Regions from separate parts of the Homo sapiens genome. Here region 2 is linked to region 1. The links are contacts of gene promoters, found by promoter capture Hi-C in blood cells and fetal thymus (Javierre and others, 2016). All regions are on one chromosome and are shown on one strand. The core of a region is centred on a gene start or on the middle of the fragment in contact, and the rest is flanking DNA. Distances in the headings are between cores, read along the strand shown.

Region 1 (2,869 bases), core at 231-2,730:
ACTCCAGGCGAGGTTGGCATCGGCTGCAACTCCCCCGTGGAGGTGGAATCCTCGCCTCTACGTCTCTGAGAGGGAGATGACCTGGCATCCTCACTCCGAGCTTGTGTCACACAAAACAGAAAAGACAGCCATTAACTTTCAGGGCCGGCCTTCCTGGATTTGTCTTTTCCTTGGGGCATTATGACTCACCACTGAACCAAACCAAACAGAGGCAAATGGCAATCGAATTAAGCAGCACCCAGGCCACAGCCTGCTGTGGGTGTCTGTGCGCACCAAGCGGCAGCGCCCAGCCCGAGGCTGAGCGCCCGGGTCCCGCGCACCCACCCAGCGCTGCCAGCTGCGGCGAGAGGGCAGACGGGGCGGCGCCGGGGGCTGTAGTGGGCCCGGCTCGGGGGACTCACGCGTCTGGGCGGGGGTGGCCCTTCCACGCCGGCTGCCGCGGCGGCTCGGGGTCGACGCCGGGGACGACATAGTGCTCGGAGTACCTGCGCGACAAGGACAAGCTCGGGCCGGGCCCGCCTCCCGGCTTCCCTGCCCTGCTCCGCAGCGCGGACGTTCCCGTCGGCTCCGCGCCACGCCCTCCCCGCCGGCGCGCGGTTACCGTGGAAAGGCGGCCGCTTGCCGACGACGCTCGCGGACTCCGAGTCCACCTGGCGAGTAGCGCTCCCAAACCGCGAGACCCAGAGTTCCCGCCGGCGGCAAGGTCGTCTCCGCCCCTGGCGGGGCCTCACCAATCACAGCGGCGCTCGTACGTGGCTCCGCCTCCGGGAGGCGCCACTGCGCATCGGCAGGGGGGGACAGTGCCGCTTCTTTCAGCGCCCGTGCGTAAACCAGAAGTAGGCCTCGCTCGGCCCCCCTTGGTCCAGATGGTCTGACCCCCTGCGCGGCAGCGTTTTCGCGGGAAAACTGGGTCCTACAGCACCAGCTCTCGGGGTGTGTTCCTCTAGCGTTGGCTAGGGAGCGTGTGCTTCTTTATCCCTTAGGCGTTTTTGGTTAATAAGGACATTACAGATGCATTTCTCACTTAAAGATTTTTTTTATTAAAAAAAATTAAGGACGGGAGGTGGTGGGGATGGTCTCATTATGTTGCCCAGACTGGTCTCGAACTCCTGCGATCCCCCCGCCTCAGCTTCCTAAAGTGTTGGGACTGCAGGCGGGCATCACCGCCCCCGACCGCGTTTGTCGTTTTTTATCGAGGAACAAACTTGGAACTCTTGACCTAGGCCCCTCGCTTGTTTTATCTGCCTCTGGTATTTATTTAGCCAAGTCCAACACCAAGTAGCCACCCAAACTACCTCCGCAGGTCAGACGTTTTTCCTTAGGTTTCCATGTTGATTCGGGCCAAAGAGGCGCGCTTACTGGCCAGGCCTTCCCGCAGGGGTCCCCGGGAAAGTTCCTGCCGCCGCGCCCCGCAGCCCCGCCTCCGCGCGTAGGGGCATTTCCGGGTCCGGGCCGAGCGGGCGCACGCGCGGGAGCGGGACTCGGCGGCATGGCGGGCTCCGGAGCCGGTGTGCGTTGCTCCCTGCTGCGGCTGCAGGAGACCTTGTCCGCTGCGGACCGCTGCGGTGCTGCCCTGGCCGGTCATCAACTGATCCGCGGCCTGGGGCAGGAATGCGTCCTGAGCAGCAGCCCCGCGGTGCTGGGTGGGTACCGGCCCGAGCTGGGCCGCGGGTGGGTCCTGGCTTCCCGAGTCGTTCTGGAGCCGGGCAGCCCGGCGCTTCTCTGTGTTTAGATGACGGTATTTTGAAGTACAGCAATTAGATTCTTGGGGGAATTTCTGTGTATGTGTATAAAGGGATTTGTCATACTGCTTTTTACCCCCTAGTATTAGAGGAAAGATATTTTAAAGCCAAAGTTGGTGAAAACGACCCCTAATATGGCAATCATTGCTATGCAGAGTGGGGGGCAGGGCAAGAGAAATAATTTTTTTTTTTTTTGAGACGGAGTCTCGCTCTGTCGCCCAGGCTGGAGTGAAGTGGCGCGATCTCGGCTCACTGCAACCTCCGCCTCCCGGGTTCAAGCTATTCTCCTGCCTCAGCCCCCCGAGTAGCTGGGATTACAGGCGCGCGCCACCACGCCCGGCTAATTTTTTTGTATTTTTAGTAGAGATGGGGTTTCACCATGTTGGTCAGGCTGGTCTCGAACTCCTGACCTCGTGATCCCCCCGCCTCGGCCTCCCAAAGTGCTGGGATTACAGACGTGAGCCACCGGGCCCGGCCAAGAGAAAGTATTTTCTTTCACCTGAATCTCGCCTAATCCCACCAGTACCTTTTCCAAACCCCTCTATTTGCCGTTCCTACTTTGAGAAAAATTGAAGAAATGTAATTGAAGTCATGTTCTTTTAACTCTTTAGCAATGCCTGGGTGGGAACTTTTTCCCCTTTGTAGTAAAAGTGCCTCTTTTTAGCATTTTAAATATTCAAATACTTAATTATGTGGATCTCCTGTATTCCTTCTTTAAAACACGAGTATGCAGACCTTGATGTTGTGCCCTATTAAAAGGTGAGATTTTCTTCCGGAGGGTCTAGTAGTGAATATGGTGTAGGAATAACTTAAACAGTTTAAACTAGATGCTATATGTGGCACGGTGCGGTGGCTCATGCCTGTAATCCCAGCACTTTGGGAGGCTGTGGCAGCTGGATCACCTGAGGTCAGGAGATGGAGACCAACCTGACCAGTATGGTGAAACCTTGTCTCTACTAAAAATACAAAAATTAACTGGGCATGGTGGCGAGCGCCTGTAGTCCCAGCTATTCGGGAGGCTGAGACAGGAGAATGTCTTGAACCCAGGAGAAGGAGATTGCAGTGAGCCGAGATTGTGCCACTGCACTCCAGCCTGGGCAACAGAGCACGACTCCGTCCCAAAAAAA
Region 2 (2,869 bases), core at 249-2,748, 610 kb after region 1:
ATGAACTTGACCCGGGCTGGCAGCAATCCAGCAATCTTCGTCACTGAATGACTTAACAGAACACTGTGTTCTTGGCAAAAGCACAAAAAATGTGTTGAAATCCACACTAAAAAAAAAAAAAAAATCTCAGTATAGATTTAAATCAATTTTAAAATACAATGATAAAAGATACTAAAATATAATAAGGGATTTTCAGTGTTTGGTACATATTTAATTCAGGTAACATTTTTACCCTCATGCCATTTTGGTCACTTTCAATCTTCCCTTGAACAATTGCTCCAACCCTCTCCCCACCACACTAAACCTACGCTCTGGCCTCCTCCTGTGTTACAACTTCTCCAACACTGTACCTGGAAAATTCCAAAGCAACCTAAGCTTGCATATTAGGGAGGGACAGCAAGAAAAGCCAGAAACAATGTGTTGACTCACTTCCGTGGAAAGCCCTAGAGAAAAATCTAGGCCACAGTTCAGCACTCTCACGCGTTGCAGCTGGAGCAGGTAAGAGGCGGTGAAGTTATGTCATTCTCACACAGGTCCTGCTAATTCGGCCACAAGGGTAAGATGCAAATGAGAAGGTAAGTAAAATACAATCTGGCGTATATATAAGTATGCAGGCAGTCTACACACTTTCAGAAAAAATACGATTTTAATTATTTTGACTCCCACCATGTTTGATGCTATTTAGAACTTAACTTTTTGAATAAAAATTTAACAAAATTAAGTTGAACAAAATTGTATCATATTTGGAAAGAATAACTTTTTTTTTTTTTTTTTTTTTTTGAGATAGAGTCCCGCTCTGTCGCCTGGCTGGAGTGCAGTGGCATGATCTTGGCTCACTGCAACCTTTGCCTCCTGGGTTCAAGCAATTCTCCTGCCTCAGCCTCCCAAGTAGCTGGGACTACAAGTGCATGCCACCACGCCCAGCTAATTTTTGTATTTTTAGTAGAGATGGGGTTTCACCACGTTGGCCAGGATGGTCTCGATCTCTCAACCTCATCGACTCGGCCTACCAAAGCATTGAGATTACAGGCGTGAGCCACCACGCCTGGCAGAAAGAATAACTTTTCAAGTTACTTTACTTAGTTTTTGCCATCCTCCTTTTCCCCTACTTTAAATTTTGCGTCTCCCAGAATGCCATCCTTGTTATATAACATCATGATAGTTCATTCTCACCATTAGCAAAAGCAGTTCACAACCACCTCATACTCTGGGGAAAACCTACACAAGGCCTAAAGCGTTCAGAGTGAACAAGATCCAAACCACAAACATTTAGCAGTCTACGCTGGCAGAATCCACCACAATGAAAAATGTTTAGCCCTTCCTTTCACCCCTCAACATTGTAGTTTTCAGTCTTAATTTTTCACCACATTTACTGCTAGTGGCTAAAATAAATCAGATCTCTCATCCCATAGCAACACATATCCAATGTCTAGGCTAAGACACATAGACATATAAAGCCTTTAACTGTAATGTTTATATTTTACAGCCTAGACTCCAGATGAAAACAAGAAGTACACGGTCAAATTATTTTCTTTCTTTCTTTTTTTTTTTTTTGTTGAGATGGAGTCTGGCTCTGTCACCAGGCTGGAGTGTAGTAGCGCGATCTTGGCTCACTGCGACCTCCGCCTCCCGGGTTCAAGTGATTCTCCTGCCTCAGCCTCCCGAGTAGCTGGGATTACAGGCACGCACCATCACGCCCGGATAATTTTTGTATTTTTAGTAGAGACGGGGTTTCATCAAGTTGGCCAGGATAGTCTCGATCTCTTGACCTCGTGATCCACCTGTCTCGGCCTCCCAAAGTGCTGGGATTACAGGCGTGAGCCACTGCGCCCAGCCCAAATTATCCTCTAACACAGTAAAATGTTTAAAGGATCCTGAACATCTGTTCTTTCAAAATTATAATATACAGTTATCCCTCAGTAAGCATAGGGGATTGCTTCTAGGACCTGCTCACTCCGATGACAAGAAAATCCAAGGATGCTCAAGTTCCTGATCTAAAATGATGTAGTATTTGAATATAACATTATATACATCCTCCTGTATACTTTAATTCATCTCTAGACTAGTTATAATGCCTAACACAATGCCTACGTATCACTTCATTCAGTGTAGTACTCAATGTGGCAAAATCAAGTTTTGTTTTTTGGAACTTTGTAGAATTTGTCTTTCCAAATATTTTTGGTCCATGGTTGATTGAATCCACATATCCCATGGATATGGAGGGCTAACTGTACTTTAAAAGTTATGCTTTCAAAATTAAGACATCATTTTGTTTAACTTGTGTTCAAAAAGTTAAGTTCTAGGTATCATCTTCCCCACCCTATGGTCCCATACTCCAGCCTGCAATGAGTATTAAACACACCTGTTTCATCCCAGCTCTTTACCACATTTTCTACTTTAAATGTGGTAAATCCCACTCGGTCTTCAAAACCCAACTCAGTTTCCTTTCTGAACTCACCTACCTTCTTCACACTGCTTTTAAAACATGGGACCTCAAAATAATAATCAATTCTGAGAGGATATGTTTCAAGACCCCCAGTGGATGTCTGAAAACATGGATAGCACCAAACGCTATATTCACCATAGATTTTCCCATGAATACATGCCTATGATGAAGCTTAATTTATAAATCAGACACAGTAAAGAGATTAACAACATAATAATAGAACGATTGTAACAACATGCCAGCATTACTATTCTTGCATTTTGGGGTCACTATTAAGTAAAGTAAGAGTGACGTGAACACAGCACTGAGATGTTGTGATAGTCAATCTGATAACAGACCAGCTACGAAGAGACTAACAGGCAGGAGCATCTACAGGATGGACAGGTGGGACAAAACAGGGGATTCATGTCCCAGATGAGACAG

Evidence for each region. Contacts are between HindIII fragments. The CHiCAGO score rates a contact against its expected background, and 5 or more counts as called.
Region 2: a contact is called between a fragment that was not itself captured here and the fragment with the promoter of PRKDC in region 1, in 1 of 17 cell types (monocytes). The highest score is 5.1, in monocytes.

What each region holds. Positions count from the first base shown.
Region 1 is chr8:47,958,747-47,961,615 of GRCh38, reverse strand. PRKDC (protein kinase, DNA-activated, catalytic subunit) reads left to right here and starts at 1,480. Exons shown (of 86, transcript NM_006904.7): 1 at 1,480-1,643. The coding sequence starts at 1,490. It overlaps MCM4 (minichromosome maintenance complex component 4), which reads right to left and starts at 675. Exons shown (of 17, transcript NM_182746.3): 1 at 602-675; 2 at 402-485; 3 at 1-100. The coding sequence starts at 471. RefSeq lists silencers at 242-641, 1,312-1,611, 1,622-1,671 and an enhancer at 1,852-2,011. The HindIII fragment of the contact is 8,899 bases long and covers 1-2,869 here.
Region 2 is chr8:47,350,964-47,353,832 of GRCh38, reverse strand. The region is part of intron 5 of SPIDR (scaffold protein involved in DNA repair); the gene reads right to left. Among named protein-coding and RNA genes, the nearest start is that of SPIDR, 91 kb to the right of the region's middle. RefSeq lists an enhancer at 1-959. The HindIII fragment of the contact is 2,242 bases long and covers 378-2,619 here.